2 separate regions of the Homo sapiens genome follow, and region 1 is linked to region 2. The links are contacts of gene promoters, found by promoter capture Hi-C in human tissues and cell types (Jung and others, 2019). All regions are on one chromosome and are shown on one strand. The core of a region is centred on a gene start or on the middle of the fragment in contact, and the rest is flanking DNA. Distances in the headings are between cores, read along the strand shown.

The links. The method cuts DNA at HindIII sites, captures the fragments that hold promoters and counts their contacts. A contact is called where the count stands out against the background at its distance.
Region 1: a fragment that was not itself captured here is called in contact with the fragment with the promoter of GPATCH3 in region 2 in 1 of the 25 tissues and cell types used here (IMR-90 fibroblasts).

The regions. Positions count from the first base shown.
Region 1 is chr1:27,242,204-27,247,891 of GRCh38, reverse strand. The region is part of intron 1 of WDTC1 (WD and tetratricopeptide repeats 1); the gene reads right to left. Among named protein-coding and RNA genes, the nearest start is that of WDTC1, 10 kb to the right of the region's middle. The HindIII fragment of the contact is 4,284 bases long and covers 680-4,963 here.
Region 2 is chr1:26,896,408-26,902,334 of GRCh38, reverse strand. It overlaps GPATCH3 (G-patch domain containing 3), which reads left to right and starts at 1,868. Exons shown (of 7, transcript NM_022078.3): 1 at 1,868-2,343; 2 at 4,610-5,034. The coding sequence starts at 1,893. It also overlaps a transcript of NUDC not described here. RefSeq lists an enhancer at 1,804-1,923. The HindIII fragment of the contact is 3,671 bases long and covers 1-3,260 here.

The DNA of each region.
Region 1 (5,688 bases), core at 1,572-4,071, 340 kb before region 2:
ATAAAATTAGGCAGGCATGGTGTCAGGTGCCTATAATCCCAGCTACTTGGGAGGCTGAGGCAGGAGAATCACTTGAACCCGGGAGGCAGAGGTTGTAGTGAGCTGAGACTACGCCATTGCACTCCAGGCTGGGCAACAAGAGTGAAACTCCATCTCACAAAGAAAAAAAAAAAAAAAAAGAAAGAAAATGTGGTACATGTACACCATGGAATGACCATGCAGCCATAAGAATGAGATCATATCCTTTGCAGGAACATGAATGGAGCCGGAGGCCATTATCCTCAGCAAACTAAAGCAGAAACAGAAAACCAAATATGGCATGTTCTAACTTGTAAGTGGAAGCTAAATGATGAGACTTCATGGACACAAAGAAGGGAACAACAGACACTGGAACCTACTTGAGGGTGGAGGGTGGGAAGAGGAAGAGGATCAGAAAAAATAACTATTGAGTACTAGGCTTAGTACCTGGGTAACAAAATAATCTGCACAACAAACCACCATGACATGAGTTTACCTGTATAAAAAACCTGCACAAGGCTGGGCACAGTGGCTCACATCTCTAATCCCAGCATTTTGGGAGGCTGAGGCAGGTGGATCACTTAAGGTCAGAAGTTCAAGACCAGCCTAGCCAACGTGGTAAAACCTCGTCTCTACTAAAAATACAAAAATTAGCCAGGCGTGGTGGCAGGCACCTGTAATCCCAGCTACTCGAGAGGCTGAGGCAGGAGAATCGCTTAAACCCAGGAGGCAGAGGTTGCAGTGAGCTGAGATCATGCCACTCTGCTCCAGCCTGGGCAACAGAGGGAGACTCTGTCTCAAAAAAAAGTTTAATTAATTAAATAAATAATAATGCAGAAATAGGCTGGGTGCGGTGGCTCACGTCTGTAATCCCAGCACTTTGGGAGTCCGAGGTAGGAGGATTACTTAGGCCCAGGAGTTTGAGGCTGCAGTGAGCTATGTTTGTGGCACTGGACTCCAGGCTGGGTGACAGAGTGAGACCCTGTTTCGAAAAAAAAAAAAAAAAAAAAATGGCTGGGCGTGGTGGCTCACGCCTGTAATCCCAGCACTTTGGGAGGCCGAGGTGGGCAGATCACCTGAGGTCAGGAGTTCAAGACCAGCCTGGCCAACATGGTGAAACCCCATCTCTACTAAAAATACAAAAATTAGCCGGGCGTGGTGGCGGGCACCTGTAATCCCAGCTACTCAGGAGGCTGAGGCAGAAGAATCGCTTAAACCTGGAAGGCGGAGGTTGCAGTAAGCCCAGATCGTGCCATTGCACTCCAGCCTGAGTGACAAAGCAAGACTCAGTCTAAAAAAAAAAAAGGAAAGAAAACACATGTCCATACAAAAAGCTGTACATGAATACTCAGAGCAGCATTATTCATAATAGCCCAAATTAGAAACAACCCAAATGGCCATCAATTGATGAATAAATATAATGTGTTAATATCCACTGTAATGGAATATTATGCAGCCATAAAAAGGAATGAGGTACTAATTCATACAACAACATGGAAGAAACTTCAAAACATTCTGCTAAGTGAAGGAAGCCAGTCACAAAAGACTACATGTCGTATGGTTCTATTTATGTGAAATGTCAAGAATAGGAAAACCTACAGAGACAGAAAGAGATGGGAGTGTTGGGGAGGAATGTGATAGCTCAAGGGTATGTGTTTCTTTTTTAGGTGATGAAAATGTTTTGGAATTAGATAGTGGTGACAAGTTGCACAACTTTGTGACTATATTAAAACCAATGAATTGTATAATTTAAGAGACTGTCTATTTTATGGTACGTGAATTATATGTCAATAAAGAAGAAATACCTTAAACCCTTTGCTCTCTCAGTCTATTCTGCCGTTTGTAAAATGAGAGGTGGACTCTGAGATAAGCTACAAAACCCCTTCCGATGACACTATGCTGAGATTTTAAGTAGACACTACTGGTTAGCAGCAGACCAGAGATGGAACCTAAAACATCTGTATTCTCTTTCCTCTGGACATGCTACCTCCCATAGCATGTCCCATAGGATTACAGTGGCTCATGCCTGTAATCCCAGCACTTTCTGGGAGGCCAAGGCGGGTGGACCAGGAGGTCAGGAGTTCGAGACCAGCCTGGCCAACATGGTGAAAGCTCGTCTCTACTAAAAATACAGAAATTAGCTGTGCATGGTGGCAGGCACCTATAATCCCAGCTACTCGGGAAGCTGAGGCAGGAGAATCGTCTGAACCCGGGAGGCGGAGGTTGCAGTGAGCCGAGATTGCGCCATTGCACTCCACCCTGGGTGACAGGGCAAGACTCTGTCTCAAAAATACAAACAAACAAAAAAAAAAAACCAAAAAAAACCCTTTCTTTTCTCTACCTCAAAATCACAGGTTATGGAAAGAAAATTCCATTCTTAGCCTTTCCTTCATCTGTCTCCTACCTTGAGCTGTGGTTATTTACGTGGCTTCTCTTTCTTAGAAGATTAAAAGCATGCTGAGGGCCTGCTCTTCATCCGATTCATCCATTGATCCCACTGGTCTTCCAGGAGTGATGTAAGCTTAGCAGGCACCAATAAATATTTGCTGAATGAATAATGGCATGACTGCCTTACACACAATGTTTTATACCTATCAAAGCACTTTTGTTCAAGCTTTTAATTTGAACTTTGCAACAATCCTTTTAGGAAGTTAGAAAGCTAATATAACGCTGCTATGAATAATGCTGCTATGAATATTCATGTACGATAATAATCCCCATTTAACAAGGGAGAAGTGAAGCAGAATACTACATGGTACTGAGGAAGAAGCACTGGACTGGGAGATCTAGGGTCTTGTGCTCCAAGCCAGCCTCTGCCTTTAACTGGCTGTATGACCCTGAGTGAGGCATTTTGCTCTCTCAGTCTATTCTGCCGTTTGTAAAATGAGAGGTGGACTCTGAGATAAGCTACAAAACCCCTTCCGATGACACTATGCTGAGATTTTAAGTAGACACTACTGGTTAGCAGCAGACCAGAGATGGAACCTAAAACATCTGTATTCTCTTTCCTCTGGACATGCTACCTCCCATAGCAGAGACGTGCCCCCAACCAGGGTGACAACTGACCCCCTTTCAACATTCTGAATTATGCAAAGATGTATGCAAGTTTCCTTTCACTCTATTTATAGTGGTTCTATTGGAGCAATCCTACAAAAAAGATGAAAGATGCAACGAAGCAAGGACTCAACTTCACTTTCAATGCATAAAGGTCATTGGAAATAACATAAGGCCAGGTGTGGTAGCTCATGCCTGTAATCTCAGTGCTTTGGGAGACCGAGGCAGGAGGATCACTTGAAGGCCGGGAGGTCGAGAGCAGTCTGGGCAACAGAGTAAGATCCTGTCTCTATAAAAAAGTTTTTTAAAAATTAGCCAGGCATGGTGGCACACTCCTGTAGTCCTAGCTACTAGGAAGGCTGAGGCAGGAGGGAGGAGGGAGAATTGCTTGAGCCCAGGAGTTTGAGGCTATATTGAGCTATGATTGTGCCTCTGCACTCCAGCCCGTGTGACAAAGTGAGGCGCTGTCTCAAAAACAAAACAAAACAAAAGAAAGAAAGAGCATAATAAAATGAAGAGTGTAGCTGTGGACCTAACAGATCTTAGGTTCAAATCCCAGTTCTGACACCTATTTTCTGTCTGACTTGACATTTCTTTTAAATTTTTTTTTCTTTTCTATACCTCTTACGTCTCTTCATCTTTTTAATTTTTTTAAAAAAATTTTTATTTGTTTTGAGACAGGGTCTGGCTCTGTCACCCAGGCTGGAGTGTGGTAGCATGATCTCAGCTCACTGCAACCTCTGCCTCCCGGGCCCAAGAGATCCTCCCATCTCATCAGCCTCCCGAGTAGTTGGGACCACGGGCATGCACCACCCACACACACCTGGCTAATTTTTGCATTTTTTTTTTTTTTTTTTGTAGAGATGGGGTTTCACCATGCTGCCCAGGCTGGTCTCGAACTCCTGGGCTCAAGCGATCTGCCCACCTCAGCCTCCCAAAGTGTTGGGATTATAGGCATGAGTCACCATGCCAGACCCTGACTTGACACTTCTAAACCTTAGTTTCCTAATCTGATAATACCTACCTCTGCAGGGTGAGGAGGAACAGAAGCGCTTGCATGTAAAATGCCTGACACTGATCCTATTAAATAATATTTATTGAACATTCTAACAGTTTACAAGTGTCATCTCACAGACTCCTCATAATAATCCTATGAGACAGGTGCTATTGTTATCCTCATCTTACAGATGCAGGATCTGAGGCACAGAAAAGTGAAGTTGCCAAAGCTACACAGTTCTTAGACAGAGAGTCAACCTATACAGTCTGACTCCAGGGGCCAGGCCATTGGCCACTAAATAATAATTACTGGGCCGGGTGTGGTGGCTCACACCTGTAATCCAGCACTTTGGGAGGCCAAGGCGGGCAGATCACTTGAGGTCAGGAGTTCCAGACCAGCCTGGCCAATGTGGTGAAACCCTGTCTCTATTAAAAATACAAAAATTAGCCGGACATGGTGGCAGGCGCCTGTAATCCCAGCTGCTGGGGAGGCTGAGGCAGGAGAATCACTTGAACTCAGGAGGCAGAGGTTGCAGTGAGCCAAGATCGAGATCATGCCACTGCACTTCAGCCTGGGTGACAGAGTGAGACATTGTCTCAAAAAAAAAAAAAAAAAAAAAAAAAATTACTGGCCAGGGAGCAGCGGCTCACACCTGTAATATCAGTATTGATACAATTTCAGGAAGCTGCTGAAACTTTGTCTCTTACCATTCCTTAGGGTTAAGCTGCCTTGACTCTGCTGATCTCAAACACAAATTTAAAGAGTGCCATTTCAAGGTCATGGACTAAGTTGGTACAAGGACAGTTTCTGGGAAAGCTTTCGCTGGTAGGATAGACTCATCACCAAAGCATCTTCAGGAAACTTCTTAGCCATCTTTGAGGCTCCTGGCTTAAATAATCCCATGTAGGACTGCTTGAGGTTTTCTCTGCAGAAGAGAGCTGCTTCTAAGCAATGCTTTACTTTCTGGGAAGCTTTAGATAAAAACTCACCTTGATGTCTTCTCCCCTGCCCAGTGGGCTCCGTATTGCTGTTTGAGCTTTTAAGAGACAGGGTCGCCTGGGTGCGGTGGCTCACGCCTGTAATCCCAGCACTTTGGGAGGCCGAGGTGGGTGAATCACCTGAGGTCAGGAGTTTGAGGCCAGCCTGACCAACATGGTGAAACCCTGTCTCTACTAAATACAAAAAATTAGCCAGGCGTGGTGGTGCATACCCGTTATCCCAGCTACTCGGGAGGCTGAGGCAGGAGAATCACTTGAACCCGGGAGGCAGAGGTTGCAGTGAGCCGAGATTGCACCATTGCACTCCAGCCTGGGCGACAGGAGCGAAACTCCGTCTCCGTCTCAAAAAAAAAAGAGACAGGGTCTAGCTCTGTTCCCCAGGCTGGAATGGAATGTAGCACTATCACAGTTTACTGCAACTTTGAACTCCTAGGCTTAAGGGATCCTCCTGCCTCAGCCTCTTGAGTAGCTAGGATTACAGGTGCAAATCACCATGCCTGGCTACTTTTATTTTTATTTTTTGTAGAGATGGGGGTCTCATCATTTTGCCCAGGCTGTTCTTGAAGTCCAGGCCTCAAACAATCCTCCCATCTCACCCTCCCAAAGTGCTAGGGTTACAAG
Region 2 (5,927 bases), core at 619-3,118:
TAAGGAGGAGATGTGCGCTGGCTCAAGCTGAGGGTAAGCCAAAGTTCGGGAAGCTGGGGGAAGGAGAGAAGTTTTAACCAAAGTTTGTTCCAACTGATCAGTGGGGACAAGAAGTTCCTCAAAGCTTTCATGAGGAGATTTGGAATATGGAGTCTGTGTCTGGCTTTGTCATTGGTGAACCAGAGGGGCATACACCAGTCTTACCTAACTCACTTGGGGAAGGATGTTTTTTTGCAATATGCTGTGTTCCAGAACACAAAACAGTGGGAAGGCATTTCTTAAGCCTTAGTTTTCCAGGATCACAGGGCTTGGGTAAAAGTCAACATTATCAATAAGTCTTCTGATAAACATGTGCAGTCATTTTTTTTATTGTTTAGACAAGGGTCTTGCCAACTTGGCCAGGCTGGTCTCAAACTTCTAAGCTCAAGGGATCCTCCTACACCAGCTTGCCAAAGTGCTGGGATTACAGGCGTGAACCACTGAGCTTGGCCCTTTATTTTTTGCTTTTGTTTGAGGTCTCTCAATCTACAGGTTCCTCCTATCACCCAGTATAATGTGTAGACTTTGTCTGAATTATGAATCAATGAATCAATAGTAATCAAATAACCCAATTAAAAAACGTACAAAGAGGGCCGGGTGCGGTGGCTTACATCTGTAATCTCAGCACTTTGGGAGGCCAAGGCGGGTGGATCACCTGAGGTCAGGAGTTCGAGACCAGCCTGACCAATATGGTGAAACCCCGTCTCTACTAAAAATACAAAAATTAGCCGGGCGTGGTGGCACGCACCTGTAGTCCCAGCTACTCGGGAGGCTGAGACAGGAGAATTGCTTGAACCCGGGAGGCGGAGGTTGCAGTGAGCCGAGATCGCACCATTGCACTCCAGCCTGGATGACAGAGCGAGGCTCCATCTCAAAAAAAAAAAAAAAAAAAAAAAAAGACAAAAAGGCGGGGACCGTGGCTCACACCTGTAATCCTAACACTTTGGGAGGCTGAGGCCAGTGGATCACTTGAGCCCTGGAGTTCAATACCAGCCTGGGCAATGCAGTGAGACCCCATCTCTACAAATAGTTTAAAAAATTAGCCAGGCATAGTGGGTTGCATCTGTGGTCCCAGCACTCCAGCCTGGGCGACAGAGCGAGACCCCAACTCAAAAATAAATAAAATATTACCTACAAGTGCTGAGTCAAATGATGTGTAGCTTTGCTTTTACTAGATAACGCCAATTGTTTCCCAAAGTGGTTGTATCAACTTACATTTCCACCAACAGTGTATGAGAGCTTCAGTTCCACCATGTTGTCATCGACTCTAAGGTTTTAAAGTTTGCCAACATAGTGGATGCAAAGTGGGTCTCGCTGCATTTCTTTTATTATTGAGTTGTGCATCTTTTCTTTAACGTAAGCCTCTAGTAACTCATAGCACTTTCATTGTAAATTGGACCTGCGTGTTTCCTCTTTTGCGAAGTATCTTCGGCCCATTTTTCTACCGGGTTATCTTTTTCTTACCGATTTGTGGGAGTTCATCAACACATTTTGGAAAAATAAATGGAAGAACGACTAAAGGTTCAGAACTGAGGAAGGTTGAGATTAGGTGTGCAATATCCACAACTAAATACCTCAAAAATGACCCCTCCCGCAGGCTTCTTATTTGGTCCTCATGAGAGCTTTATGAAAGAACTCTATGACCCCATTTTCCAGGTGAGTTTTTCCATCATCGCCGGCTTCCCTCTGTGGGAAAGGAACACAGAAGACTTCGGATCTTCCAGCTCCAGGTTCCACAACCCCAATCCCAAAGGACTAGTTAGAATTTTCACAATCTCGCAACGCAGGGGCTGGAACGTTGCTCGCGGTGTTCTCGCGAGACTTGGTTCTAGCTGATCATGTGACAATCCAAGATGGCGGTGCCCGGCGAGGCGGAGGAGGAGGCGACAGTTTACCTGGTAGTGAGCGGTATCCCCTCCGTGTTGCGCTCGGCCCATTTACGGAGCTATTTTAGCCAGTTCCGAGAAGAGCGCGGCGGTGGCTTCCTCTGTTTCCACTACCGGCATCGGCCTGAGCGGGCCCCTCCGCAGGCCGCTCCTAACTCTGCCCTAATTCCTACCGACCCAGCCGCTGAGGGCCAGCTTCTCTCTCAGACTTCGGCCACCGATGTCCGGCCTCTCTCCACTCGAGACTCTACTCCAATCCAGACCCGCACCTGCTGCTGCGTCATCTCGGTAAGGGGGTTGGCTCAAGCTCAGAGGCTTATTCGCATGTACTCGGGCCGCCGGTGGCTGGATTCTCACGGGACTTGGCTACCGGGTCGCTGTCTCATCCGCAGACTTCGGCTACCTACGGAGGCATCAGGTAAGAGTGAGAAAGTTAATAGACTGGGCCTACGGGCCTGGAACAGAGGCACCTTTTCAGAGGAGTGGTGAGGATAAGTCAGGCCTCTGGTTAGGACTCTATGAGTTTAGTTCATATTCTAGACAGAGCTTCAGGCTCAACTTGCAGGGAGTTAGTCCAATACATGGAGAAAAATAAACCGGAGAGGCTTATTCGGAAGAGCCTTCATTTTGTTAGGTCCCTTTTGAGACCCTTTCTCTATCCAAGGGGTTGATTTTGCACTAACACAGAAAGAAAAAAGGAAATCCAGTCTCTAACCCTTTTACTGTCTTTCTCTCCTGCTCTCTCTGTGCTTCCTACCCAGTCCTTTCAGTAAGATACAAATGAAGAGACAATCTTTTCTCTGGACAGCTCCCACTTTCATGGGAAATCAGTTTGATGGGGAAACAGGACAGTGCAGAGCCCTCCAGTTCACACATTCAACAAATGCTTACATTGCTAGACCTAGTGTGACTAGCTGGGTATGCAGAGAACAGTTGGACATAGTGTGTGCTCAGAATCCACAAAGGAAGACATTTGGAAAAAGGTTATTGCCACAGAGATGTCATTCTAATTGTTAGCATTCACTGAGCACTCTGTATTTAGTAGGCGCTGTTCTAAGCCTTTTGTTTTCTTACCCCTCTCAACAGTCCTATGAGATAGGAGCTGTTGTTTCTCCCATTTCATAGGTGAAGAAACTGAGGGAAGCCGAAGTTATGTGACTTGCCTGAGGTTACAGAGTTAGTTAGTGTCAGAGCTACAACAAACCTAGGCATCTGTTCCAGAGCCTATACTGTTTATCACCAAGTGCTGTGAGATGACAGAGAAGGGAGAAACTAACTTCCTAGATGGATCATGAAATGTGGCTTTCCATCTGGGTCTTGAAAAATAAATAGGAGTTAATAGGAGAGAATGGTGTTTCTGGGTTTCAGGGTAAATGGCGTTTGCAAAGACACAGCTTTGAAAGCCCGTGAAAAACTTTCAGGGCATGTTAAATTGTTCATTGTGGGCTGGGTTGCAATGGCTCGTGCCTGTAATCCCAGCACTTTGGGAGGCACAGGTGGGTGGATCTCTTGAGCTCAGGAGTTCCATACCAGCCTGGGCAACATGGTGAAACCCTGTCTCTACCAAAAATACAAATTAGCCGGTTGTGGTGGCGCATGCCTGTAGTCCCAGCTACTTGTGAGGTTGAGGTGGGGGGATCACTTGAGCCCAGGAGGTGGAGGTTGCAATGAGTCAAGATCGCGCCACTGTACTCCAGCCTGGGTGACAGAACGAGACCCCATCTCAAAAAAAAAAAAAGAAGAAAAAAAAGAAATTAGGAGAAAAATTGTTTGGTGTGGCTGGAACACATCGTATGAAGACATGCAGGAGGTGGGAGTTGGTGACAGCCGAGAATCAAAAGGTCATCAGGTGGGTAGATATCACTTGAGGCCAGGACCAGCCTGGACAACATGGCGTAACCCTGTCTGTACTAGAAATACAAAAATCAGCCAGGCATGGTGGCACATGCCTGTAATCCCAGCTACTTGGGAAGCTGAAGTATGAGAATCACTTGAACCCGGGAGGCGGAGGTTGCGGTGAGCTGAGATTGCACCACTGCATACGCCAGTCTGGGTGACAGAGTGAGAATCTGTCTCAAAAAAAAGAAAAAAAAAGTTCATCAGGAGCCAGAGCTGGAAGAAACTTGTATGCCCAGCCAAGGTGATGAGAAGTGACATGAAACTACTAGGTAGTTCTGTAGTTCCGCTTGGGGAGAGATGAAAAGACCTGGAGAAGTTTGAGAGGGAGGAACAGCATGAGGCTAATGGATTTATTTTATTATTTATTTATTTATTTTTGAGACAGGGTACTCTGTCGCCCGAGATGAAGTGCAGTGGTGCAATCTTGGCTCACTACAGCCTCACCTCCCAGGCTCAAGCAATCCTCCTGCTTCAGCCTCCCAAGGAGCTGGGATCACAGGGTGCACCACCACTCCCAGCTAATTTTTTTATATTTTGTAGAGATAAGGGTCTCACCATTTTGCCCAGGCTGGTCTTGAACTCCTGAGCTCAAGCAATCCTCCTGCCTCAGCCTCCCAAAGTGCTGGGATCACAAGCGTGAGCCACTGTGTCGGCCTAGATTTTTACTAGGGATTTACTAGATGTTTACTAGGGAAAGGCTAACAGATTTAAACATTGGCCAATTTCTGGCTCAAGTGTTGCTGGAGGCTTCTGGGTTTCAAGATCTATTCTCCCTCCTTTCCAAGGTCTGGGCTCCTTTCCCTTCAAGACCCGGAAGGAACTGCAGAGTTGGAAGGCAGAGAATGAAGCCTTCACCCTGGCTGACCTGAAGCAACTGCCGGAGCTGAACCCACCAGTGCTGATGCCCAGAGGGAATGTGGGGACTCCCCTGCGGGTCTTTTTGGAGTTGATCCGGGCCTGCCGCCTACCCCCTCGGATCATCACCCAGCTGCAGCTCCAGTTCCCCAAGACAGGTTCCTCCCGGCGCTACGGCAATGTGCCTTTTGAGTATGAGGACTCAGAGACTGTGGAGCAGGAAGAGCTTGTGTATACAGCAGAGGGTGAAGAAATACCCCAAGGAACCTACCTGGCAGATATACCAGCCAGCCCCTGTGGAGAGCCTGAGGAAGAAGTGGGGAAGGAAGAGGAAGAAGAGTCTCACTCAGATGAGGTGAGTACAGTGTGCTACCCTGTCCTTGCTGGCAGCTGAAAGAGGCCGAAGGCATTAATAATACCACTCTTCAATTGTCTATTACAAGGGTTCTTAACCTGGGGTCCTCAGGAGGGTTCCAAGGAGTCCAAGAAGGAATGTAAAACTATATTTGCATGTGTGTTTCTGTATTTCTGTAGGGAGATGGTCCAGAGCTTTTACCAGAAGATTCGTAAGTGGGTCTTATTTTTCATTCCCTTGGAAGGGATATATAAGGATGGTTCCTTTTTTTTTTTTTTTGAGACGGAGTCTTGCTCTGTTGTCCAGGCTGGAGTGCAGTGGCACGATCTCGGCTCACTGCAAGCTCTGCCTCCTGGGTTCACGCCATTCTCCTGCCTCAGCCTCCCAAGTAGCTGGGACTACAGGCGGCCACCACCATACCCGGCTAATTTTTTGTATTTTTAGTAGAGACGGGGTTTCACTGTGTTAGCCAGGATGGTCTCAATCTCCTGACCTCGTGACCCGCCTGCCTCAGTCTCCCAAAGTGCTGGGATTATAGGCGTGAGCCACTGCGCCTGGCCAGGATGGTTCCTCTTTATTCATTTTTTTCTTTTTTTTTTTGAGACAGAGTCTCACTGTGTCACCCAGGCTGGAGTGAAGTGGTGCGATCTCGGCTCACTGCAACCTCCACCTCCTGGGTTTAAGTGATTCTCCTGCCTCAGCCTCCCGAGTAAGCTGGGACTTCAGGCATGTGCCACCACGCCCGGCTAATTTTTTTTTTTTTTTTTATTTTTAGTAGAGACAGGGTTTCACCGTGTTAACCAGGATAGTCTCAATTTCCTGACCTCGTGACCCACCTGCCTCGGCCTGCCAAAGTGCTGGGATTACAGGCATGACCCACTGCGCCAGGCCCA